Linked DNA regions of Homo sapiens: regions 1, 2, 3, 4, 5 and 7 are each linked to region 6. Evidence: promoter capture Hi-C in 16 types of primary human blood cells and fetal thymus (Javierre and others, 2016). All regions are on one chromosome and are shown on one strand. Each heading gives the region's core, a stretch centred on a gene start or on the middle of the fragment in contact. The rest is flanking DNA. Distances are from core to core; before and after follow the strand shown.

Region 1 (4,186 bases), core at 413-2,912, 450 kb before region 6:
GGAATAGTTCTCACCTCAGGGAGAAAAGTAAAAACTTTATAGAGGACGCAGCATTTAGCTAAGTAGATGAGGAAAGGGAATCCTTAATGTTACGCAGAAGTGACAAAAGTCACAAAGGAAATTGGAGAAATTGTATAGCCTGCAAGGTAAAAAGCCACAATTAAATGGTGTCATAAAAACTAGGGAAAAGAGCTTCTGAAGGACGGAGTAGGCAATGGAAAGAAAGGCCAGGGGGTCAAACAAGATAAGAAAAGGATCCTTTTAAAAAAAGTCAAACGTTACTGCCAGGTTAGAGACTGTTGTTTTCCACTGCAAAGTGCGCCCTAGGAATAAACAGCTAATTCTACCCCAGCAGGTCCTACCCAAAGCCCTCACCTATCACACCTGCATGGCAAGTGAAATGGGGATCAGGTATAAGAACACTCAGGGGAGAGTAATTCTACCAGACACCTACAAAATTCACTAAATTTCATAAGCAGAACAACTGAAAAAAAATACATGAACTAAAGTTTTGAAGAAAATTTACTATAAGGCCTAAAATAATTAACATGAAGCTGTCTAGCAACTGGGAATTTTTCACTTGCTTGATTTCTTTTGAGGTCTTATAATGAGCTTGCACAGAGATTCCTGGCACAGATGTGGACTCCCAAGCATGAGGAAACCATTTACTAACCAGTCTGTCCACTCAAGTGGCTTTGGAATTTAAAATTACAATTCCTTCAGCCTCAGGCGGGGAAGCCAGAGCCCTGGTAAAAATGCTGGGACAGAGCAGACAGCACTGTCAGGGCTTCCATCTTTCCTGCTAACAGGACGTTTAAATCCAGACATCACATATTTGCTTGAATACATCAGTAATTGTACTGCAACTGTCTCAATAGAGGCCCCCCAACTGAACTGTATTTTTTTTTCCCCACTTTAGATAAAAAGCAAGCTACTTGGATGGATGGTCATGTGAAAGGATTAATCATTCCCCTAGATTACTAGAAAGACCCCATTTGCCACATTTTCTGCCACTTTTATGAAAACCATCCCTACTGTTTTAAAATGATTGAATACTCTTAAAAAACATAATTCCAACCCTTTAAAAGATTTCTTCATTGTTCTCATTTTAAAGACTCCCAGCATTTTTTTTACAATGGCTTTCTAAAATTGCCATGTGGAAATGGAAAGTGAGCTACATTAGAAATATGTTTTCTTGAAACCAGTTTTCAGAAATGCAGAAACGTAGACCTTTCCAAAACCTTTACCAAACAGCTGGGGTGAGGGAGGGGATATGGTATTGAGATTTATGATTAACTGTTTTGAATAAAATGCAACATCAGTAAAATACACCAGGTTCTTAAAATTCTCTTTATTTTTTCAACAAGATTGTATCTCCTTTATAGGTCTGATTTCTACAACAATACTGCTTTAGAATCTCATGTTTAAAATTCAAGCTCATTCCAAACTATGAAATTTTGCCAGTCACGAGCAAAAGTATGACCAAGAAAAAGAAACACTAGTCATAGCTTTTCCTGGAAACAGTGACTCAAATTGACATCTACTACAGAAGACAAGATTCTACTTCATCAAAAGTCTCTAAATTTGGAACAACGTATCCAGCCTTTTAAAAAGTTAGTAAGTAACCTTGCAAGTTAATTGATAACACTATCATACATTTAATAAGTACTTTTCAGGAATTCTCATTTAATCTCCATAACAGACAGAGTTAGCTATCATTATTCTAAGTTTTAGAAGAGAAAAATTATTCTCAGAGAAATTATTGTGTCTTGCCCAAGGACACAAGCAACCAGCCCAAGGATCTGAATGTGTACACTCTAGCTCCAAAGCCACTTATTCTTTGACTCTACTACAGCCCAAATTCTAAAACTGAACTGGTTCATTTTTTGTGGTATGGTATCTTGTAAGAATTATGAAGCGATACCACCCAAAACAATTTCACAAGCCTGCAATTTTAGGTATGCAAAACAGGTTTTTACTTTTTAACGCACCAGGCAATAAACTTCATCCCCAATGTGGCAGTACTGACAGGTGAGGCCTCTAAGAGGGGAATGGGTCATGAGGGCTCTGCTCTTATGAATGGATGAATCCATTCATGGGTTAATGAATTATCATGTGAAGGTAACTGGTGGCTTTACAAAAGGAAGAGAGACCTGAGCTAGTGCCCCTGCATTCTCAGCCCCCTCACCATGTGATGCCCTGAACCACCCTGGGACTCTTTCAAGTCCCACCAGAAAGAAGGCTCTCACCAGATGCGGCCCCTCCACTTTGGCCTTCCCAGACTCCAGAACTTTAAGAAATAAATTCCCTTTCTTTATAAATTACCCAGTTTCAGGTTTTCTGTTAAAAGGAGCAGAAAATGGCTAAGACAGTAGGCAAGGCTGATGCACCCTAAGGAAACTAAGGCCCTGATAAGTTTGTTTTTAAATGGGGGAGCCAGGCTTCTAACTGTTTTGTTTTTCTTTAATCTTAGGATTGGTACTCTATGACCCTTATAATATTTCTGGCCTTAGTCTTCAGTACAATTAAAAAGTATGGAGATCATACAGCTTCTAGCACTTGGACTACAAGTGGGGACAAAAAGACAATTTGTATAAAACTACAGCTCTTCTCCATGGTACTAAAACTATCTGCAAAGAAAACCAAGCAGAATGATAACAAACACTACCTTTTATCTCTAGATTTATCCAGCCTTCCTCACCATTACCATTAACAGCCCAAAACAGAGATACCAGTTTAAACTATGGCTGTCAAAGACATTAAGTTGCCCTTCAAAACAGGAAAAAACCCATTTGTAAATTACCTAAATATTTCTATTTACCTACATATTGACCACTCCTCTCCAAATGAAAAAGAATTTGAGCCCGTAGGTGTGTGAATGGGGGATAATCAGAACTTCTGACAACACAGAAGATATATGCTTATATTACCTTCTTAACATATTTTACAACCAAAATGTCTTGGCTTTGATTCTGAACTATCATATGAGCCAGACAAGTATTTATGAAGTAACATCTAAAACCCAAAATCTACACGGGTTTTAAGGAGCACATATTTTATCAGATGACATCCTCTTCCTCCTGCAGGATAGGATATTGCTCAACACTAGTAACACCATTTAATGATTACGAAATACTCAGAAAAAGTTGACAGCCATTGCATAATAAGTGTCCTAGTCTTTTAGCCTCTGCCTTATTAGCAAAACAAAAACCCAGAGCAATCATCTTCCCTTGTACAAGAAGAGTAGAGATCTGCATGATGAGCAGTGAGCACCTGAAGAAGAGGTTCTAGGAAAAAAGCAAGGAGAAGATTCCTATTTTGACTTTTTGCAGGGCTGGCTCTGCTTTATGATATAAGAAACTTAAGGCCAGTTGATCTAGGGTCTCAAGAAAAATGGAGATGACCAAATTCAAAATACATAGCACCCGAAAGCTCTATGTATGTTGTTGAATCTTTTCTTTTAAGAGAAAATCAAGTTTTCATTCCTTGTGACTTCAGAAATTCAACTAAAATGCTCAAGATAATTTCCTAATTTCAAGCCTGAATATGTTTTCCATTTCTTTTAAAAGTCCTATAATCTTGAAGCTATTTTTTAAAAGGATCTAATTTGTACAGTGGAACTGTCAACATTACTCCATTTCTTCATTCAAAAAACAAAGCTTTTTGAGTTTAAATGCAAGTTACACAATTACAAGGCACATTCTATGTGTCAGGCACTGTGCTAGGCAGTGGGGACACAAAAAGGATCTCTGACTTCTAAAGGTTCAGTGTGAAGCTTTAGGCTGGGCACAGCAGCTCACACCTGTAATCCCAGCACTTTGAGAGGCCATGGCGGGCGGATCTCTTGAGCTCAGGAGTTGTAGACCAGCCTGGGCAACATGGGGAAATCCCATCTCTACCAAAAATAAAAAATAAAAATTAAAAAAAATTAGCTGGACGTAGTGGTGTCCGTCTGTAGTCCCAGATACTTGAGAGGCTGAGGTGGGAGGATCGCTTGAGCCTGAGATGTGGAGGTTGCAGTGACCTGAGCTCACACCACTGCACTCCAGCCTAGGCAACAGAGTGAGACCCTGTCTCAACACACACACACACACACACACACAATAACTATAATTACATGTCCCCTTAAATGATAACATCAATCAATTCACAAAAAATTACAATCAATTTACAAAAATTAAGAGGT
Region 2 (4,047 bases), core at 708-3,207, 430 kb after region 6:
ATTTTATTTGTATTTATTATTTTATTTTAGAAATGGTGTCTTGCTCTGTCACTCAGGCTGGAGTGCAGTGGTGAGCTCATAGTAGTTAGGAATGCAGGCATGCATTACCATGCCCAGCTAATTTTTAAAATTTTTTGTAGAGACAGGGCTTTGCTTTGTTGCCCAGGCTGGTCTCAAACTTCTGGCTTCAAGCAATCCTCTTGCCTCAGATAAGGAGGTATTTTAGATTTAGACCACCTTGAGTTCAAATCCTAGCCCTGTCACTTACGAGCTATGTGACTTGGACAACTTTCTTAAACTCTTTAGACTCAATTTCCTCATCTGCAAAATGGGAATACCAATATTTACTACCTAGGGTTGCTGTGGGCAGGCAGGCTACCTGTGCCAAGTTCTTCCCCTAGTGCCTGCCACATAACAGGAGTTCAATAGAGGTTAACTGCTATCATTGCTAGCCTATTATTTACTTATATGGCTGCCTCAGAGATTCACACCAGCCTGTGAGAAGATAATATAACCAGGTAGTATGATACTTGGTGAAGCTACTTAAATAACCCTTGTTTACAATTGGCCTCCAGGTTAGATTATATCCTAGTGCTCCTGAAATGCGGCCACATCGGTCATGCTCCCTTAAACCGGGGGCAGGTGGAGCGTACCTAGGAGAGGCCAACAGAGACCATCCCTGAGTCTGTCAGGCCTACCCAGGGCAACTGTGGGCCAAAGGTGGACCTCTAGTCAAGACCCCAAACTAGCAGTGGTGCTGACTGCATGGAAGAGGGCACCTGGCTGGTGTGTGTGCTGGGCCCTGTTTGATGAGCAAAACATCCACACTGGGATTGTGTCTTGTCCTCTCACACTAAGTCAAAGGAGGTTTCCAATTAAGGTGTCTTCTGTCCAACGTATTCTTGACTTTTGTACTGTGGCCTTGGGATACATTACCAAAGCAGGCTGCTCAAAGCCAGGCTCGTGCTTTCTTTTGACCCTTTCTACCCTTCTTGGTACAGTGGACACTCCTGCAGTATGTTCTAAACAGAGACGCTGGGCAGAGGGAACAGACTCAGACTCTGCACTACCAAAGAATTCCCATTTACTGTTTTCACTGTGGAGAAACAGCAAATGTGGCCTCCAGGTAAGGAGGGGAAGGTCAATCCCACCATGCCCAAATGGGGCTGGGCACCAGTGCCAGCTCCTGGCAAGCTCTTTGTCTGTTTGACATAATGCCAGATGGTTTGTTAACTTTAGAAAGCTGTCATACCTCATAAAACTCCCTTTATTACACTCTCTCAGGCCAACTAATAATATTTTTTTTATGTCAGCCTCTCAGCCTTCACCTAAGTAGTTCTCTGTCGGTATTTTTTTTTTGACAGCAAGAGGAAGATGCCCAGAAAGATGGCAAGTGGCACTGTGCCAGGGGAAGAAAAAGGAAGAGCAGAGGGATTCCAGCACCTCAGCTAGGACAGCCCAGAACAGCTCCAGAACAGCCTCCAGGGGCTACGGGCAGGGCAGGAACTCTTAGGGAAAAGGGGCATTGCTGCAGGTGGGGAGAGAAATCCTAGGACTGCATGTGAGCAGTTGGGGCTTCAAAGCTAAACACAGAGAAGAGAGCAAAGGAGAGGAGCAGAGTCAAGAAAGCTTTAAAGGAGGTAACAGAGAGAACACAGTGACCATAAAGAAGCAGTGGCTCTTGGCAAGAAGAAAGAGAATGAGATGGGAAATGTCAGAGTTAGTGAGATGCTGAAAAACGGGCTCTTGACAGAGTGGCACTGACAATGGTCTCTCTGCTGACTTTTCACCTCTAAGAGCTCTTCAATGAGCTCAGAGAGTGGGGATACTGGAGGAGCTTCAAGTGGTTCCATGAACTCCCTGAAGCTGTAGGAGGAGGGGGAAGTTGTTCTAGTATAATGAGTGTTAGCTGGGATACCCTCGGCTTCACATCAGATGAGGGGATGACTCTCAAGGCCTTCGTAGTAGTTCATTCTACAAGGCAGAAAATGAGTTTTTGCTATTAGCAAGATGTAGAGCTAGATGCTGCAGGTGATACAGGAATGAAAGGGATGAAAGAGATGTGCCCATTCCCCTGCAAGTAACCTAGAGTCTACAAGAGAAGGAGCAAGACATTAGGTGATGCATTTAATGAATTTTCATCACATATCTAATACGTGTCAGGCACTGAGGTAGACACAGTGTATTAGTCCATTTTCAAGTTGCTGATAAAGACATACCCAAGACTGGGCAATTTGCAAAAGAAAGAGTTTAATTACTTAAAGTTTCATGACTAGGGAAGCTTCACAATCATGGCAGAAGGCAAGGAGGAGCTACTTGCACCTGTAACGTCTTACATGGATGGCAGCAGGCAAAGGGAGAGTAAGAAAGATGCAAAAGTGGAAACCCCTGATAAAACCTTCAGATCTCAGAAGACTTATTCACTACCATGAGAACAGTATGGGGGAAACTGCCCCCATGATTCAATTGCCTCCCACCAGGTCCCTCCCACAACATGTGGGAATTATGGGAGTACAATTCAAGATGAGATTTGGGTGGGGATACAGATCCAAACCATATCACACAAGTAAACACTTAGGACAAGATGGTCTAGTCCCTGTCCTCAGGAAACTAACATTCTAGTAGTCCCTGTCCTCAGGAGACTAACATTCTAGTAGTCCCTGTCCTCAGGAGACTAACATTCTAGTTGTGGAAAGCAGACATGGATACTTAATTAATTCTAAAATTATTAGAACTTCAAAAGCTGGTGGGGGTGGTGTTAAAGGATGCTATGGGAATGCTTAAAAAAAAGAACTAAGTCCCTGGAGGGCCAGGGCAGCATACATTATAACCACAGTGGATTTTCTACTAAGTCCAGTGAGGATTCAGGGGATGGAGAGATTGCTCTGTAAAGACAGAAGAGAAATACGACAAGTTCTTTGTACTGAGTATGGGAGGATGGATATGGAATTTAGACAGAGAGTGAGGGTGTGTTTGACGCTGGATGCAAAGAACAACATGACCAAAGAACAGAGAAGGGAATCAGCAGGCAGCCATGGGCAATAGGAAATGAGGGTCTCCACCAGGGCCGAGAGGGGCACCAGAAGTCACCTGCACGTGTGTGGCATAGGCTGACCATCACACAGGGGAGCAGAGAGCCATGTGGCACAGGGTCCCACACACCTGGCTAAGGGACTGAAATTTAGGACCTGTACTGCAGCTGAGCCAGAAAGCTAGAGCAAAATCCCAGTTTTACCCCTGACAAGTTATGAGACCATGCATACATCAATTTATGTCTCCAAGCCTGAGTTCCTTCTATAGTAAACAGAGGTAAGAAAGTCCTACCTCACAGGCCTGCTAGGTGACAAATGCTCACAGTGTATTATTTTCACATTCTTTATCTGAGTGGCCAATGAAGAATGCACGAATATTTCTGAGCAGATGGTGCAAGGATTGGATCAGAAAGTGATTGAGGAAGCTCTGCTCCGCATGTCAGTATATACAGGATGGACCAGGGTGGCATGTGGTGGGTATTCAGTCAGCATTTGGGGAGAGAATGGGGAGAGACTAGGGGTCAAAAGACCAGGAGTGAGGCAGTCAGGTCCTAAATAGGGCAGGCATAGGAAATGACAGTATTCAAGAATTTAGGAAGGTTCAGGCCACTGGATTTAAGGAAGGACTCAAAGATGATGCCAGAATCCTGAAACTCGCTAACTGGGAACACAGCAGCGGACAGGCAGAAGTAGTGACAAGAAAATTCATTTGCTTAAGGAGTAAAAAAAAAAACAAGCTGTTTTGGAAGCGTAGACTACGTTATTTTTACTTTTACTAGAAATCCATATGAGGACTTTCAATCGACATCTGGAATCCAGAATTGGAGTCCAGAAGTGAGGCCGAGATTAGCCATGTAGACTTGGGAATGACTCTATAGGTGGCGTTATTGAAGCCACTGGTACAGATGAGCTCATAGAGAGAATGAAGCCAAGAAGAGAACCTTGGAAAAGCAGGTGCTTTATTCAGAGGGCAGAAGAAAGGGGAGGGAAAAGAGAGTCCTGATTGACAATAAAC
Region 3 (3,860 bases), core at 1,354-3,853, 430 kb before region 6:
CAAGCTCATGCACTTAAATAATTTCTACAGTTGGACATTTGAGATGTTTGTAGTTTTTCTCTAAATCCTATGACAAAAATTTTGTACCTATGATTTCCCTCCCTTCCCCCATATTTTAGCATACCTTTTTAGATAGATTCCAAGGAAGTGAAATTACTGGGTCAAAAGCAACATACATTTTATAACTTAAAAGATAAAAGATAGAAAGCCGCATTGCTTTCTAAAAGAATGGTATTTCCCTAGCTACTAACAGTGTATGTGAATTTCCATTCCACAGTACTCACAGTTTTTTTTTTTATTCTATGATTAAAGGGAGGAAGTTGAGTGCTCATTCATTTTTAATGGACAACAATTTGATTATTAATAGTGATGGGCATTTGTGAGGAGACCCCAGACTTGGCCAGCCTGTGAATACTAGCATGGTTACAGTAAACTGAAAAAATATATCTATTTGATCTAATATGTATTATCCCTATAATATATGAGTATGTATTAGAAACATGCCCAAATAGTACGTAATCCATAAATGATAGCTACTGTTATTGTTGCTGTTATTCTTATTATTGCCCAACATGTGATGATTCTTAGTCTATACCTGCTTTCCCAGGCCCTCAATTTCCCAAAATCATGATTTCCCAATTTTTGGGGGGCATCCCCAGTTAGGTGCTGTCTCGGAACATTCCTGTGAGGCTGCTCTACCCAAGCCCTCTCCCTCTAGCGCCCTCTATTGGACACAGGTACACTATGCCGGAGGCTGTCAACCCTCAGAGTTCTAACACTGTACTTAGGGTGGAGGGCATGGTGGCAGAATTGTCACCTGGACTCCAAAAAGGATACTGCCTTATGCCCAGAGTCTTGCAAATATCTTTATTAATACAGTTCCTCCATCTTTTGGCCCTAACCCCCTCATTCCCTAGAGGCTCAGGCCACAGGCCCTGCATGTAAGTGGGGGGCAGTGTGCCATGCTCCCTGTAGGGAGTGGACAGTGGCACCCCAGAGATGTCCACCTCCTAATCCTGGAACCTGTGAGTATGTTGCCTTGGTAGTCCCCTATGGTAAAAGGGACTTTGCAGATATGATTAAGGATCTTGAGATGGGGAGGTGATCTTGGAATATCTGGGTGGGCCCAGGGTCATCCCGTGAGTCCTTACAAGTGAAAGAGGGAGGCAGAAGGCTCAGAGTCAGAGGGAGAGTTGAATATGCATTGCTGCTAGCTTTGAGGGTAAAAGTGGCTAGGAGCCAAGAAATGCAGGAGATCTCTGGAAGCTGGAAAAGGCAAGGAAACAACCATCCCCCAGAATCTCCAGAAGGAATGCAGCCCTGCCGACACATTCATTTTAACCCGGTGTGATGTATTTTGGACTTCTGACCTCCAGAACTGCAAGATACTAAATACGTGTTGTTTTAAGCCACCAGATTGTAGTAATTTGTTACAGCAGCAAACTATAGCGATGAATACATTCTGCTGATGTCTTTGTTTCCTATCCCTATTTCTCGCTCTAGGTTTACATTTTAAAACTGTTTCCATCTAGGCCGCGCGCTGTGGCTCGCGTCTGTAATTCCAGCACTTTGAGAGGCCAAGGCAGGAGGATCACTTGAGGTCAGGACTTCGAGACCAGCCTGGCCAACATGGTGAAACCCTGTCTCTACTGAAAATACAAAAATTAGCTGAGCATGGTGGCATGCACCTGTAATCCCAGCTACTCAGGAGGTTGAGATTAGAGGATTGCTTGAACCCAGGTGGTGGAGGTTGCAGTGAGCCAAGATCATGCCACTGCACTCTAGCCTGGGTGACATAGCGAGACTCTGTCTCAAAAATAAAAAAAATAAAATTAAAAAACTATTTTCTTTTTTTTTAGCGTTAAATCGAAAGTTCCCTAGTTAATTCCCACAATTAGGAGGGGCCCACCAGTTCCACAAATAGGAAATCTCTGCACTGCTCTTGCTCGTAAAGTGTATTTGCTTTTTCATAAATTGCTTATGTTCTTTGAGCCACCAATGGTTTAATGTCAGAATAATATAGATCATTAGAGCCTCTCAAGATCCCACAAGGAACTGCACTTTCTCCTGTAGTTAACCATCCAGTCATCCATGCAAGAAATATTTATTGGATGCTACCATGTATCAGGCACTGAGCCAGTATTGAGATGTGAAGACACAGTGCATAATCTAAGCCTTTACAGAGGCCACAGATGTTGGGTTTTTATGGCTTGAGAACAACATACATTGTTTCTTTCCAGGAAGCTAATTGGGGTACATGGAGCCACTTTGACTAAGTAGCAAGGAACAGGAACTGCACACTGGTTCCATCTTGGCTTCCAATTTGTATTCAGACCCAGGCAAGAGTTAAAGAGTTCGATGATAGATAAGCACAGATGCAAAACAGTACAGTCCAGTGCCTCTTTGCTTAGGCTAATATCTGCCCTCTCTTTATCCTCTCCAGCCCTGCCTTCCTGCCTTTGACGCAGGGAGCTAAGGGTCTGAATGAACCCTGTTGGAGGTTGCAATTAAATCTTTGTGGACAAAGGCACACACACACACACATACACAGAATCCTCAGATAACAGGAGGCAATAAATCCAACAGCACATCCACGTTCAGAGAACAGTGTCCCTGCTGTCTTGCTAACAGCTGCCAATACCTCACTGAGTGCCTCACACCAACATGGGCTCCAAGGTAAGATTTTTCTCTCTCCGGACAAATTTAATCTTTCCTTGTGATTTGTGTCTCTGTCAGAGGATTTTGACTGTTAAGTAAAGTTTACTATTGATTTGTTGGCAAATTCCTGGTTTTGTTTGTTTTTGTTTTGGGATTTGGGTGTGTGTGTTTCTCTCTCTTTGTAGTACTTACTTCACTCACTATGTTTTTTAATTTTCCATGGCTTGTCTTTTATTCTTATCCATACATATCCTAAGTCAATTTGTATTCAGAAATACCTCCTTTATATAGAGAAATGAAGGATCTTAAGTAATTGCATGCATTTACTGGTTAAAACTTAACTGAGAATTTGGTTCACTTAGGACCTTGGTCACGTTAATATGTAGTAGTGAGAGGGTTCTTCCAGCCCTGGGCTTAGAACAGAGTACCTCAGTGTTTGGGGTACTCCCAACACCTGAGGCTGACTATTGAATTTCAGTGATAATCATTTAAAATTATTTACTTCTTTAATTACAAAAGTAGCTCATTATTGAATATTTAGAAATACACAGAAGATAACTGAAGTCATTGATTATAAATAACTGGCATTTGAGTATCTCTCTACTCTCTCAAAAATGTGCCCATATATTTATATTTAGACAATTGAGATAAAGTTGAAAACACAGTTTAATTTCCCTTTTTTACTTAACGTTATAGTAATAGTATTTTCTGTATCATTAAAATTATTTGAAAATATAATTTTTAAGAGCCGCTTAATAATCCACCATTAACATGTTTGACTTTTTTCACTAAGAAAAATAATTCTGCAATTGATCATTTTGAGTATAAGTCTTTGGCTGCATCTCTGACCTTTTTTCTTTTGTAGGATGGGTTCCTTGTAGTAGAGTTACTAAGTCAAAGAGTATACAATTTTTAGGGCCTGATAGATTTCATGATGGTAATCTATTTTAAAATTTAAATGAGTGATATTGTTGATACCACAACAGAAGCCACGTCAAAGAAAATGAAATTCTCCCCAGAAACTCTTATTACTTGAAGTTTGACAAGGTACTGTGACTTAATGCTGACTAATGATATGAAATCCTGAATAGAGAACTAATCATGAAAGTCAATATTTTATTTTCACAGATGAAGGCATCTTTCTGATCAGGGGTTTGTAGCTCAAACAAAAGAATGAGCGTGCTTCTAGAACCACAGAGCAA
Region 4 (3,807 bases), core at 934-3,433, 440 kb after region 6:
TGTGAAGCGAAGGAGCCTGGTGGAGCCAGGGTAGAAGAAATAGAAATCAGGAAATTAACTAACTAGGGCTTTCCTACTTTCACTCCCTGACAAGGAAGTAATCATTGCTGATACTGATTCAAACTCAGAGGACTTTCCCATACTATATCAAGGGCAGCAAATCTCCGGTTATTCAAGATCCAACAAAGGAATAGCTCAGCTAACACAGCCCCTTTCTTAAAAGAGAGAAATGATAAGCAACAAGCCCACACCTGCTATTTATTCTGAACACCAATTGCTAAAAGGTCAGAGAATCCGTTGTTTTCCATGATACCATAGATTTGGCCTGATTCTCACACCTTCACACTGTTCTACAATACAACTGTCTTTTGAATAACTCTGAGACCTAAACAAAATACAATTTTAAAAGGCCTTAGATACAGGCTAAATCATAAAAATAGTAGGCGGGCACAGTGGTTCTACATGTAATCCCAACACTTTGGGAGGTGGACATGGGTGGATTGCTGGAGCTCAGGAGTTCAAGACCTGCTTGGGCAACATGGCAAAACTCCGTCTCTACATAAAGTATAAAAATTAGCCAGGCGTGGTGGCCCGCACCTATAGTCCCACCTACTTGGGAGGTTGAGGTGGGGGGATCTCTTGAGTTGGAGAGTTTGAGGCTACAGTGAGCCGAGATCGCACCACTGCACCACAGCCTGGGTGACAGAAGGAGACCCTGTCTCAAAAATTAAAAACATTAGGTCGGTGCAAAAGTTATTGTGTTTTACATGGCCAAAAAAAAAGTAACTGCGGTTTTTTTTACGTAAAAACCGCAATTACTTTTGCACCGACCTAATAAAATAAAAAATAAATAAAAGTATTGTGGTATGGACAGTGTAACTATAACATTAACAATACAGTTTGAATTCTAATTCTTTTAAAACAGCCAGCTCTGTGGTCCAACTTTGTTTTCTTATTGAAACTTTATCTTATTCATCTACCAGCAAAAGGGCTGTTTTTGAGGATGAAACAAATTACCAGAGATGACAGCAGTTTGTAAATATATACTATTCTTCAGAAATTTGAGATTACTGTACACACAGATTTAGTATACATAGAGAATTCCACTCATATGCCAAATCTATGCCCCTGTATGCTTTCCACTTATTTATTCACTATTTTAAAATAATCGTACCCAAGTCGTTGTTTCTATTAAACCAGCAATCAAACGAAAGCCTTTGGAGCGATGAGGAGCATCTGTTTGAAAGGGGGAGGTGCCACGCTTGCTGCTTCTCTAAGCTCCCTGGGAAGGGAGAGACAACTCAGAAAACCTACAAACTGTAGCTCCTTCCGGTGCCCGCGTGACCCCCGAGTCCAGGAGCGGGCAGGGGCGCCGCTTGGCTGAGCGCACTGGGCACCCGGTCTGGGTCTGGGCCAGCCCCGCCGCTGCAGCCCGAGGGAGGCGGCGCTGCACTGGCCTCCGCGCGCTCCCAGACCCCACGTGGGGGCGCCCCTGGGTGCCGGTGCGCGGGGAACGTGCTGCGGGGGTGCTGCGCCAGCTGCCACCGTTTCCCGGGACTTCCCTCCTGGAAGATTTCCATGCGCAAGTCGAGGACGTGCTCCTGCTAGGAGTCTAGAAACTCTAGGCCAGCCCGGACCCTCCCGGGGCCTGCACTCCCCGCGGGTGGAAGCACGCGCCGCGTGTCCCTGCCGGATTCCAGAACTTCCCCGAAGGTCCTCAGCCCCGGCAGACCCTCTCCCTCGAAGTTCCCCCGCCACCCCCTGCAAGCCCCCAGGCCCCGGGGACCGCCGCTCACCTAGCCAGCGGCTCCAGACACCGGACACCGGACACCGGACACCGGACACCCGCCGCGGCCGCTCTCGCCGCCCAACCCCGCACCTGAGCCCGCCCCGGGCGCCGCGAAGGGGTGGAGGCGGGGGTGAGGCTTCCGCCCGCCCGCTCTGGCCCCTGCGCCTCCCATGCACCCATGCAACCTCCGAGGAAATTCCCTTCCCCCTACTCCCACCCCACGCACACTCTCCCCAAAGCCTCGCCCCACCCCCAGCACCTACCAGTGCTGGGCGCCCCTGGGCAGGGTGGCTCGATCACCCGCCACATCCACTTGGCCGCCAGAAGCCGTCGGGGAAGGGAGGGAGGGAAAGGCAGAGGCGTCCCAAGCGGCGCAGGCGGGCTGAGCAAATACTCCGGCCCGGACGCAAAACAGCTCTTGTAGCCGTCCCGCCCGCGCCGCCCCGCCGCGCCCACATGCCGGGGTGACTGGCGGGGCGCAATCGCGGCCCCACCCGGGCGCCTGGAGGCTCTCCAGGGCCACTCGTCGGCGAGGCTGCGTGGCCTGCGCATCTCGGGCCGCCTGGCCCGCGCGCTGTCCCCGAGCTGCGGTAGTCCGGGGTAGGCTTGTCCTCTCCTCTCTTAGTTCATGAGACAGGGATCTGCAGTCTGTGATCTCTTGGGGACTGCAGGACTTAGATTAAATCTGCAGATCTGGGCCTTTCCACGTTTCAGAGCTCGGGGTTCCTTGCTAGGTGTAGGGTAGGAGGGTGCGCAGGCCCCACTTGTTCACTCTGCTTGGGTGCTGCAGGCCAAGGCGACTCTGGAGCTTTTTTTTTTTTTCTTTTGTTGACATTAAGTAAATGATCAAACTCTTTGGCACTTGTCGGTACACGTGTGGCTTTGTAGGACAAGATGAAGGAAGGAAAAGGCTGGAAGGAAGGAGACCGCAGTCAACACAGACAGGTGGAGAAAATGAAAGAAAACTGGGGGAAAAGTTAAGATGCTGAAAGGAGTCTTGAGGATTGCAACAAGAACAGGTTGGCTTGGTGCCTGAAGACGTCAGGGAGGAGCTGGCAGTCCACAGTTAGAGGAAATCTTGGAGGAAAATTGAGCAGAAGCACAGTGGAAAGGCATTTCCACTGGAGGGCATTTTCCATCCTAGAGGAGCATGTGGAAGAAAACCGCCTGCTTTGGTGAACCCCAGATTTTGTGTATTGGGAGAGATGTAATAAACAGTAAACACCAGTAGTCCTCTCCACGGACTACCTGACCTCTTTAGGAGCCTGACCTGCTGGATTCAAACACAAAATGGCATTTCCCTGCCTCTCCAAACTGCAGAAGCTGTGCAGAGTTACATCAAGCCTCGGGGCAGGCGGCATTGTCAGGAAATAAGACCCAGCTATTTAGGAACAATTCCAGGAATCCCATCAGGGAGGAATTTCTGGTGTAAGGCTTAGTTCCTACTGCAGTTTAAATGATAGCATATGGGGTGCTTTAGGCTGGAGTGGGATTGGCCCCTGGAAAGCTGCTATGACGAGGTCAGAATGAATCCTAGCCCTGCATGGATGCATCAGTTGAACCATACAGGGTGGTTTATCAGTTAGGAAAAATCCCACAGGACACTGTGACAGCCTACCTTCCTCACACCCAGTCTCTCTCCAGGTCCTGGCAAGTCCTTCCTTATAACAGCTTTATCACTGTGCTACTAACCTCTGTACCTCACTTTCCTCCTCTAGATAAAGAGTGTCTGCCTCGGTAAGTTGTCAAGAGGGTTAAATGAGATGCTACATGCAAAGAGATTAGAAGAGCTCTTGGCATGTGGTGAGTGTTCAAACACATTCACTCAGATCAGTTCATATCACATTAAGGTACTGGAATTCCACATTCCTGCCATCTCACCCTAGGCTGTGGGTTCTGCCCACCATGCCACCTACCTTCCAAGTCATTCCCAGGGATCCTATCCTCCTGGTATTCACATCCTTGCATAGCTCCCTGCCACTTTGTAAAGGTTGGTATGCTTGACCAATAGAACCCGG
Region 5 (3,862 bases), core at 867-3,366, 480 kb after region 6:
TTGTCCTCTTGAGATATAACAAACACATTACATGGGCCAGATCTCTTTATAGACACTGCCCTCCCCTGAGCCTGCTCCAGAGCCAGTGCAGCCCTGCAGGTTGACTCACTGCGGTAAACTGTGTACCCAGGCCTGCTCTATGCAGGGGCTGCTTTGAGATAAAATACTTCTTGTGTAATTGTTTTAGTTTATAAGATTAATATTTTTCTTCTCAGGGACTGTGTCCACAATTAAGGAAAAAGGCTACCAGGTGAGTAGTGATATTTGGCAGGCCAAATATGGGATGTGGTTAGTTGCGTCATAAAAAATAAAGTACACTTTACTAACTCAATTTTGGTCTACATTTTACTTTTCTCTTATTATAACAGGAAAATTACAGAATATTTAGAAAGGAAAGAAGTTACCTACCATCCAAATCAAAAAGGCAACTTTTAAAAACATTTGCTTCTAAGCTTTTTGCCAGTTATAACAATAGAGACTTATGTTGTACTTTTTTCCTTAACATTATTTGCTGTGCAATAATTTTAATATCTGCATAATATCCCTTTTATGTTTTTCCATAACCATTCTCCATTAGTAAGCATTTAAATTCCTTCCAGTTTTTCATTATTATAAATACTGTACTGAGCATCTATGAACACATAGGTTTTTTTTTATTTTGGATTATTTCTTTAGGGCAGATTCCCAGAGGTAAATTATGGCCAATGGGCTTTGATATTTTTTAATTCTTTACACATATTTCCAACTTGCTTTCGAAGTGTTGTGCTGATTTATGAAGTCACCCCTGACGTAGCAGATAGTCTGCTTCATAGAGCCTTTTCCAGCTCTGGGATTGTGTTAAATCCGTAAATTAACTTGGAAGGAAAAAAGTATGTTACTCTATTCGGTCTTGCAATTAAATATATCTATTGTTCTATTTGTTACTGCTGCAGTTATTATTTTGATATATATGTATATGAATTATAGGTATTATACATACATACATATATATGTTAGATGCAGGCAATAAGAGGATTCCTCAGGCCTTTCTCTTCTCTTTGCTTTTAATGTTCTTCCTTACCTGCTTTTCTGTCTTCTCCCAGCCCAGCACACTCTCCAGGCCTCATCTGCCTGCACACCCACATAATATCTTAAAAATTCACAAAGGTAATAATAAAACACAAAAACTGAGTGGCAGAGATAGCAAGTGCACTGAGGCTTGAATAAAACTCTGTGCTAGAGACCAAGTCACTGGATTCACATGGGTGTCAATGAGATCAGACCCACCCTGGAAGTAGATTAATGGGGCTGCTGACCCCCTGTCCACTGGCTGATGGTGAGAATTTTGAAGCGTCCTTAATAAGGCTCTCATATAGAACCTGAAGAGTCTCGGTCCTTTGACTTTGTGTGTACGGTGTGCGTACATGCTCTTGGCGTGTGTGAGTGTGAGCTGATGAGAAGGGCGTTCCCAGCAAGATTCCTTGGCACCATTCTCTAGTTTTAGGGGCGAGTGCAGTGCAGTGTGTATTGTTTGCTGTTTGCACAGCGGCACTTCACTGCTCCAGGGCCAAATGATGACAGAGGTAAAGTCTGGGATGCTTCGACACCACTCCCACATCCCTGTGCTGTGTCCCGGCTCTCCTCTCTTGCTCCCAGCCAACGGTAAGAGGCTAAATGCCTGGGTCTGAACTGGTCCCAAGATCTGAACTGTAGAATCTCAGAGCTAGAAGACATCTCAAAAGTCACCTGGCTCAACTCTGTCTTTTTCTATACATGAGGAAAGTGAGGCCAAGATAAATAAAGTGGCTCAAGTCAGTTTAGTTTGTGGTAAAACTAGCATTAGAACCAAGGTGTCCCGGGCAAAAGGTTAACAGACAGGGCCACTGGCCCTTGATCTACCTTGCGGGAAGTGCATGGCTGTGGGTAAGTCAGTCACACAAGCTTTCTCATTTACATACTTTTTAAACCACATCGGCCTATCCAAAGGGCCACTACAAGGATTAAATTGAATAATGGATGTGAAAGAGGGCTTTTGAGACTGTGTTCCGCTCATGTTATATGTTTAATATTCACAGTCAGTAATGGACTAACGGTGGGACAGTGGATACCACCAGCTTCCCATGCAAACAATAAGAGGCCGCATTATCTGTTGAAAACGTAAAAACAATTATAAAACTGACTAAAAATTAGGTTGCTTTTGTTATTGTTGTGTTTGGCAGTTTTAAATCATGTCAGTGATAAAATAGTCTTTCCTGAAAAATTATTTTGTAGGTCGCCATTGCAAATAATTGTCATGGTTACTATTGAATTTTAATGATATGTGTGAAAGCTTCAACTTAGCACATTTTTGTTTCTTAACCTCTAATAAGCCTTGTATTCCACATGAAAGTTAATTCCAAGGTCTCTCAGCTAGAGATGCTAGATTTAACAATAAAGATAAGAGATGCCCAGTTAAATTCGAATTCCAGGTAAACTGCAAATGATTTTTAGTATAAATATGCCTCATGTTTATTTCAGACATACTTATACCAAAATAAACATTGTTGTTTGCTTGAAATTTAAATTTAACAGATGTCTTGTATTTCATCTGGCAAGTCTACTAATTATACATGGGAACACAAATACATGCTTTCATTCAGAGAACAAGTTTATCACAGCTGTGAGTGATTTGAACTCACCTGAGGCACAGTTTTTGTCTACAACCCTGGTAGTAATACACTTATTTGAATTTAAACAGTAGATTTAAAATAAAGCTAACACAGGAATTATAAGGACAAAGAAACTGAAAGTGTCCTTCAATTTTGTCCTTCTTCAAGTGGCCACCTGGAGCTTTTATATGGTTTTTTAAAAATTTAAGAGTGAAATAGAATATGAACTTCAAGGTATCATATTTTTGCTTGGTAAGAGCATGTTTTAGTTCACATGACACGTGACATATTTTACTGAATGTTATGGGTTGAATTGTGGTTCCGCAAAAAGATATATTGAAGTCCTAATCCCCAGTACCGCACAATGGGACTTCATTTGGAAAGAGGATAATTGCAAATGTAATTACCTACATTAAGATGAGCTGACACTGGAGGAGAGTGACTCCTTAATCCAATATGGCTCGTGTCCTTAAAGGAGGAGGAGAGAGACCCACAGGTAGATGAATGCCAGGTGAAGACACAGGCACACAGAGGCAAGGCCATGTGACAGCAGAGACAGAGATTGGAGCGAGGCAGCTGCAAGCCAAGGAGCACCAAGGATTACTGACCCCTACGGGAAGCTAGGGAGAGGCAAGGAAAGAGTCTCTCCTCCAGGTTTCAGAAGGTTTCTCCCAGGTAGGTTTCCCCCGCTGACACTTTGATTTGGGACGTCTAATCTCCAGAACTGTCAGAAAAACAATTGCTATTGTTTTCACCCACCCAGTTTTTGGCACTGTGCCCAGGTCCACCACCTACTAATTGCATGACTTAGCTCATGTTTCCTAATCTCCCTGAAGCACAGTTTCCTTATGTATAAAAATGGGGCTGGCCATGCCCACCTCAAACTGTTGGAATATAGTGAGATCATGCACATAAAGGGCTCAGCGCTGTGCCTGGCATAAGATAATGATATTAATGTGCAAATGATATTCACTTCTCTTCTTATGCTGCTGCTATTGTAATGGCACCTTCAGGAGTGATTTCTCTAGGAGTAGTGCCATGTAATAATGCTCCCTGGAAGACCATGTTCTCCAGATGCAGAAGGAATGACTCTCTGGGGGTTGAATTTTAGGCATGACAGAAAATTTCTACACGTGGAAGCCCCTTTGCAGAAGATGTATTTAAATCCCGGCCCCTGCAATCCCAGCACTTTGGGAGGCCGAGGCAGGTGGATCACGAGGTCAGGAGATCGACAC
Region 6 (2,700 bases), core at 1-2,500:
ACGAGGGTGAAGAGTTCACTCAGGGTGTGGGGTGGGGATAGGTCCACCTGGGGAGTCCAGGTGGGAAGCAAAACTTGCTTCAGGGATGCTTCCTGCAGGTAAGCAGGAGCTTAATGGAAACCGAGCTGCTTCAAGACTGTGCCTATAGCCTCAGGACTGCCTACCCTGTGCCCACAATAAAGTCTGGTGCGCCGGAATCTCCCAGATGGAGACTCTGAGCCAGGCAGTAGAAGGAGCCATGGCCAGGTAGTAGAAAGAGCACTGCCTCAGGAGTCATAGGACTGGTTTCCAGCTCCGGTTCTGCGGTGGCTCAGCCCTGGGGCCTCTGCAAGTTGCTTAACCGCATCTGCAGGTGATGACCTCTTCCAGTCTAACTGACTCCTCCTGAGTCCCCCTCAATTACACTGAAAATTGGCGATCCTATTTCCCAACTCCCTCTCCCACAGAGATGCGCTGGAGCACTTACAGATAAAAGGCGACCTGTGGCCCTGGAGGGTGCCTGCCTGTGTGTGCTGGAGGTGGCGGTGGATCTTTTATTACCCAACACTCCACTTGCCTTTTTAGCCTTTCCTCTCCCTCTTCTCTCCTGGCCTCCCAGTGGCCGTCAGGGGTCCCTGCAGACATCGCTTACCCACAGTGGTGCGGTGTGAGAGTTACAGGGGTTCCTGACCTTCGCTGTAAGTAAAAGCTCTCTAGGGGAGGCGTTATAGCTGACCAGGGCAGCAGAGACCGCGACTAAAGCGTGAATTCCCCGAAGTGCGATTTACAAAGTTTTTGCATGGAAGTCGGCGCTCGGCGGGGAGGGCAGCCAAGGGAACAGAGCGGGTGGAGCAGGGGGATGGGGAACTCTGTCCTGCAAGAGTAAGGACCCCATGGAGATTGGACACCTCTCTCCTGCAACTCGGGCCACGCCACAGTGTCCTAGTCTCTAAACTTCTCCGGCTCTTGGTGTCCAGTCACGCGTAAACCGCCCCTGGTGTCCGAGCGCGGCCCCTTCCGAGAGTGACAGGCTTCGGCCAGGGCGCCGCTCCGACGGGCGCAGGGACGCACTGCAGAGAGGCCGTGGGTGACGCGGAGGTACGCGGCCAACCGCGACCCCAGCCCGGCCTTGGCCGCCCCCGCCGGACCTACCCTGCGGCGGGGCGCCAGGCTTGGCCGCTGTTGCGCCCGCCCGCCCGAGCCGCCGCCGCCGCCGCTGCTCCCCGCCCCCGGGGTCCCTGGAGGCTCCGCGGCTGCCGGAGCGGGAGGTGGAGCCGAGTCCGCGGCGGCCGCGCAGGAGGGAAAGTTCAGCGACGGCGGCAGCGGCCGGAGCCGGGCCGGGCAGCTAGCAGGGCGCTTCGGGTGAGTCGGGTCCCCTCCCGGGCCAGCCGGGCGCGGTGTGCCGCGCGGGGGCGTCAGTGGCGCCGGCAGATCCCCACAGCCCCGCGCGCCTAGCTCGCGCCCGCCCACCCCGCGACCTCGGGGTGGCTCGTGCAGCTGCGGAGGACGGTGCCGCGCCTGGCCTCCCTCCGCCGCTGCCCGCCGGGGGCCCAGGGCACGGGCAGGGGCCGGGGACCGGCTTGGCAGGCGGAGGGCGCGGCGCCTCCAGGTGGGCGCGCGGGGACGCGGAGGGAGCTTCCAGGGAGGGTCCGGGGCCGCTGCGCTCCCGGGGTCGGTTTGGCTTCACCAGCGTTTCTCGTGGCCTTCCGCTGTCTGATTGCTTTCTGCAAAACCCACTGAAAAGTAGCCTTTCCACGTGCCGCGCGATGACTGCGGTTATTGTATTATTGTGGCTGGGATGGAGAGGGTGGAGGGGGCGTGACGAGGGTGGCCGGTGGGCAGCGCGCTCGCCTGCCCGGGACCGGGCTAGTGGGGGATGTGGCTGAGGGTCACCGCTGCCCGAACATGCCCAGGGGACGTGCGATCGGTGGGCAGAAGCTGTTCGAGGGCATGATCTTGGGGTGGGATGGGGGCTAGAAGGGCGGGGAGGAGAGGAAAGCTGTAGGAAGCGGAGGCAAAGTTGTTTGTTTCCGTCGCACTTCCTGCACCTGCATTCCTGTCAGAGATTTTGAAGTTATCTTTTCATCGATGAGCAAAGAATGGTGAGAAAGGAAGAGATGTTAACAGCACTGTGCCTGCCAAAACAGTGAGCCTCGGGAAATACTCATAAGTGAAATACTAATAAAAAGCATGGAGTGGTTAAATTTCACAAACTCCACTTTTCTTCTGGTTTCAAAGCCTTGGTGCAGTTTTTACTTAACGTCATTAGATACGTCTAGATAATAAAGGTAATGAAGTGTTCTTTCACGGTTTTTTTTTTTAAACTGGAAATTTAAATTTAATTCTGTAGGATTTCGTCGACATTGTTCCTACAAGAAAGTCAAATTACCTTGGTGTTACTTGCAACAGTGAGCATTAATAAGCCCTGTGCAGTGCTGAAATGTTGCTAATTGGAGGGAGAAAGGTCCTTCAAACTTGGAAATAGACGCAGAAAGGCAAGATGAATTTTTATGTAAGCCTTAGGCATAAAAGGCGACTTGAACACGTTTTGTAATAGTGCATAATACACAGGGGACTAGGTGTTGGGCTGCCGGAAGATGGTCAATTCCTAGAAAGCAAGAGACGGGCCATACCCATTGTAAGATCACCGTACATATTTAATAATTCGTCTGCCTTGAGCTGCCACACCATATGTACTCCACATAATACAATATCAAAATA
Region 7 (3,971 bases), core at 1,179-3,678, 400 kb after region 6:
GCTAATCCAGATGCCCAGGGTGGAAGGTGTGGAGACCCAGATGTGTGGTGTGAGCTGTGAAAATGTGTTCAGCTAACAGTACCAGAAAACAAGGGCACGCTGGGCCCATATAGAAAGCCGCTGGGCCCGTTCAGAAAGCCTCTTGTCCAGCCTGTTGATGGAAGCACTTAGAATGCCTCCCCACCAATTCCTTCATCAGAGCCTCACAAGTGTCCCCAAAGGAGGATGCCTCTGTTTTATCACCTTTGTTCTACAGAGAAGCTTAGCAAGCTGGCTCATTCATTCTCTCAAATGATCAGCCCTTTCCCCACCATGCCAAGTGAGGTAGTGCCTCTGTGTCTTTGACTTGCTGTTCCCTCTGCCTGGAACAGACATCCACATGGCTTAGACATCCACATTGCTCCTTCCCTCTTTCCTTCAGGTCTCTGCTCCAATACTGCCTTCCCAGAGTGGCCTTCTCTGACTACCTGTCCCATCCCAATTCCATCCTCCCAGGATTCTTCAGTTCCCTCATACTGCTTTATTTTCCTCTGCAGTGCTTAATAAGTGATTACCTGTCCTCATAGATATGTTTATCATCTCTCTCTCCCATGAAGAATATAAGCTCCCTGAAGGCAGGAATTTTGTCTGATTTTTTCATAAAATGTGTCTCTAACTCCCATAACAGTGCCTAGTGTGTAGTAGACACTCAATAAATGTTGCTTGGATGAATATACGATCCTTTGTCTTCCTCAGCTGTCCCCATTTAAAATGACATAGTGAGATCTAAGCAGAATTAATGAAAATGTCCTTTAGATCCCCTATTGCTGCTGTTTTAGAAAGAAGTATGTATTGTATCAGCAGTATGCACACAGGACTACAGTTCCACAACTTCATCCTGATTTCTTGAAGTCTTAAAAATGCAAGTTCATGCATGTCCCTTCAGAGGAATCATGGAATTCATGGCATGGTCCACAGGAACACAGGTCCCTGGCCTGACCTCCACCACAGCCCGATCTCAGGAACCTTCTCTTCACAGGCTCACATCTTACGCTGCTGTTTCAGACTCTCGGTAGGTCAAATCCTACTACAGCTTCCAAGTACCAGTCTATGCCTCATTTATTTTGAGCAATTTATGACATGATAGCAAGCTCACACGACGGAGGAAGCAGGGCTTGGCCTGGAGGGAGAATGTCACATCTAGATGGACGTGAGAGAGGGCTGAGTGCCAGAAGGGGTTCCAGGCATGGTGGATGTGGAGGACACAGCAGCTGCTCACCCTCAAGGGACAGGTTCAGAAACAAAGAGCACAGAAGTAACTCGATCTGAATTCACTCTTTCTGCCAAGTGTAATGCTCCATTTATCACTGTCTGAAATCAGTCTTCCCTCCATGTCTGCAGCAGCCTGGGATGCCGCCTCTATGTTAGATCTTCTGGGAGGAGTTTAGCTAATACAACTTGGCATCTGTTCTTTCCATGACATTCAACACTTCCCGAACTCCAGATAAACGGGTAAAGATGCAGAACTGTGTTTGCAGCTTTTAGGACAGATTTCCCATCCTGCTGCTTAATTTCATTTCTGCATGAGATTAATTAACTAATCTGTGAAACATTAGTGGAAATGCCTAGGTATGCAGCCCCCGGAGGACAGAAGGGAAGTCTTTTACCTGGTGAAATGCATATGCCTTCATACGATTGATTGAATCTGCCAACATTTGTTGAATATTTCTTGAAGAACTGGAGAGTGACTAAAAATTAAACGAAACACATTTATGGCATTTGGAGCTGCAGTGCAGTTTCATAAGATAATCTGTCAATGTTTCCCTGGTTTCCCTAATGCTGCCCCCGCCCCTACAGATGGATCCACCCAAGGCTCCCACTGGCACCTGAGTTCCTGGGCCGATCCTGACTACAGCAACGGGCATGTGAATCCTCAGTATCCCCACTCAGTAGGGCTTAGAAAGGAATTGTTGCCCAAGAGCGAGGAGCTGGTGGTTTGGTATATTTTGCTCCCATTTAGTTGGCCCTGGAGGGCCCTGGGGATAACTTCCAGCCATCAACATTACCCCCTATTTAAATTCTCTTCTTGCTTAATCTCTGCATACCCTGTTTTAGTGCAGGCCAAAGAAATGCCTTAGTCTCTGGATTTAACTATATGATGCCTTGCAGACATGCCTGGAGCACAAGTTTGGTGCGTGGGAGCCCTGCCCAGTTTCCCTGCCTGGCCCACAATTCTCCTCTTTTCCTGCCCTTGTCACCCAGTATCTATGTTTCTCCTGCTCTAGATGGATTTCCCATGAGGCAACCTCCCCACTGGGGTTCCCAGATTCATTGCCTAAAGTCCCTGGTGTCATTCCTGCCTGCCGCAGGCCAACCCTCTGGCATCACAAGTATGCCAGCAAATCACAATGGGTGCTTCTTAAGACACAGGCCCCCATCAGTCCCTGGCTGGAGTGCAGAGCCTAAGCTAAGTCCCAACATGGGTAGTCAAATGTCCTGAGTACCCAGATATACCTACCCACAACCCACATTACCGCAAAGTATATGCCTTGTGTCTGAGTTCTTAATTTTGGCATACATCGGAAATTGTCACTAAAATTTCAGCAAAAGGTTGGTGCCACCATTCAGAAGGAGTACAGAGGATCATTACTGCACCATGCAATAAACCAGTGGCTTTCTCAATCTTCCCCTTTTCTCAAAGTGGCTGGCATGTGGCTACCCCACTATACCGCATTTCCCAAATGCCTCAGCGGTTGTCTTAACATAATGCAGTTGACAACAGGCATTTGCCATTTCTCCCCAGGCCCACTTGAAACCTCCTTCACACACTCCTGCAGGCCACTTCCACCTTCCTTTGGGCTGGAATGGTGACAGCAGCAGTGCTACTACCAAAGATAGCAGATACTTAGACTACAAAAGCCTGAGTCCCTGAATGACTGTGTGGAGCAGAGCCCTCCTGAACTAGAACACCTATTCTGGACTGTCTGAAGACAAATAAATAACTTTTATTGTATTTTTGGCCATGGCATTTGGGGACTATTTCCTTCAAAAGTTTAGCCTATCAACTGATAAAACTGGTCACAACAGTTGCTGGAGGCATGTTTCAAGCTCTCTGCTGAGGTTTTATAATTAATCATAGGTGGTGAGATTAATGCTAATTCCGCTAATGAGCACTAATGCATACTGAAGACGTATTATGACCCGGCACCATGTTAGTGTCTTAGTATTATTTTTACTCCACACAACATCTGTGATGGATGGGCAACATAATGGGCAATTTTCAGATGAGGAAACCAAGTCTCAGGTGAGTTGTGGAGCTTGCTCAGCACCAGACAGCTGGTTTGTGCCAGAGTTTATGCTTTTTCCACTATGTTGACATTGTAGTGATAAGAAAATGAGATGCGGGTCAACAGATATCTAATGCTTATTCCTTGGCAAACTAATGAATCCTGTAGGTTTCACAATTGCTATTTACCATATTCTCATTGTTTTCTTATTTTAATATTATAAAAGTATACTTTGCTGCTCTGCGTCTAAACTTAGAACAGTAACCAGTTCCTCTATTTGGGAACAGAGTGAACTGTTCCCACAAGTTTCATGTAAGCGCGTCTGCTCAAAAGTCCAAGATGACTTTTAAAATCTCTGAGTGCATTTCCACCACCAGGAAGGAGAGCTTTAAAAACAGGCCCACTCTCTCTTTCTTTGATGATATAAGATCTTTGGGGCACCGTTTTGCAAAAAGGATGTTTCTTATATTTGAAAATTAGGAGGCAGGTAACCCTTCTTTCTTAATACTCCCGCAAGTATTGCAGAGAATGTTTCAAATATGCTATGTTTATTACTTGGCAAACTAATGAATCCTGTAGGTTTCACAATTGCTACTTATCATACTTTCATTTTTTTCTCATTTTAATATTATAAAAGGATACTTCGCTGCTCTACATCTAAAATAGAACAGACGCAGAGCAGCTGTTGCAGAATCAGACAGATCT

Evidence for each region. Contacts are between HindIII fragments. The CHiCAGO score rates a contact against its expected background, and 5 or more counts as called.
Region 1: a fragment that was not itself captured here is called in contact with the fragment with the promoter of CSGALNACT1 in region 6 in 1 of 17 cell types (neutrophils); the score reaches 6.1 in neutrophils.
Region 2: a fragment that was not itself captured here is called in contact with the fragment with the promoter of CSGALNACT1 in region 6 in 4 of 17 cell types (non-activated CD4 T cells, naive CD4 T cells, activated CD4 T cells and 1 more); the score reaches 7.7 in non-activated CD4 T cells.
Region 3: the fragment with the promoter of SLC18A1 here is called in contact with the fragment with the promoter of CSGALNACT1 in region 6 in 1 of 17 cell types (neutrophils); the score reaches 6.8 in neutrophils.
Region 4: the fragment with the promoter of SH2D4A here is called in contact with the fragment with the promoter of CSGALNACT1 in region 6 in 2 of 17 cell types (non-activated CD4 T cells and naive CD4 T cells); the score reaches 5.5 in non-activated CD4 T cells.
Region 5: a contact is called between a fragment that was not itself captured here and the fragment with the promoter of CSGALNACT1 in region 6, in 1 of 17 cell types (non-activated CD4 T cells). The highest score is 5.7, in non-activated CD4 T cells.
Region 7: a fragment that was not itself captured here is called in contact with the fragment with the promoter of CSGALNACT1 in region 6 in 14 of 17 cell types (non-activated CD4 T cells, total CD4 T cells, neutrophils and 11 more); the score reaches 16.5 in non-activated CD4 T cells.

The regions. Positions count from the first base shown.
Region 1 is chr8:20,199,912-20,204,097 of GRCh38, reverse strand. All of the region lies in intron 1 of ATP6V1B2 (ATPase H+ transporting V1 subunit B2), which reads right to left. Among named protein-coding and RNA genes, the nearest start is that of ATP6V1B2, 4.6 kb to the right of the region's middle. The HindIII fragment of the contact is 3,998 bases long and covers 1-3,661 here.
Region 2 is chr8:19,328,080-19,332,126 of GRCh38, reverse strand. All of the region lies in intron 2 of SH2D4A (SH2 domain containing 4A), which reads right to left. Among named protein-coding and RNA genes, the nearest start is that of SH2D4A, 16 kb to the right of the region's middle. The HindIII fragment of the contact is 652 bases long and covers 1,632-2,283 here.
Region 3 is chr8:20,181,879-20,185,738 of GRCh38, reverse strand. SLC18A1 (solute carrier family 18 member A1) reads left to right here and starts at 2,603. Exons shown (of 16, transcript NM_003053.4): 1 at 2,603-2,676. The HindIII fragment of the contact is 10,670 bases long and covers 1-3,860 here.
Region 4 is chr8:19,312,069-19,315,875 of GRCh38, reverse strand. SH2D4A (SH2 domain containing 4A) reads right to left here and starts at 2,183. Exons shown (of 10, transcript NM_022071.4): 1 at 2,053-2,183. The HindIII fragment of the contact is 8,347 bases long and covers 1-3,807 here.
Region 5 is chr8:19,271,720-19,275,581 of GRCh38, reverse strand. The region is part of intron 4 of LOC105379300 (a long non-coding RNA gene); the gene reads right to left. Among named protein-coding and RNA genes, the nearest start is that of SH2D4A, 40 kb to the left of the region's middle. The HindIII fragment of the contact is 388 bases long and covers 1,923-2,310 here.
Region 6 is chr8:19,755,827-19,758,526 of GRCh38, reverse strand. It overlaps CSGALNACT1 (chondroitin sulfate N-acetylgalactosaminyltransferase 1), which reads left to right and starts at 1,250. Exons shown (of 9, transcript NM_001354483.2): 1 at 1,250-1,341. The HindIII fragment of the contact is 8,664 bases long and covers 1-2,700 here.
Region 7 is chr8:19,354,959-19,358,929 of GRCh38, reverse strand. SH2D4A (SH2 domain containing 4A) reads right to left here. Exons shown (of 10, transcript NM_022071.4): 5 at 1,647-1,727. Among named protein-coding and RNA genes, the nearest start is that of SH2D4A, 43 kb to the right of the region's middle. The HindIII fragment of the contact is 4,329 bases long and covers 264-3,971 here.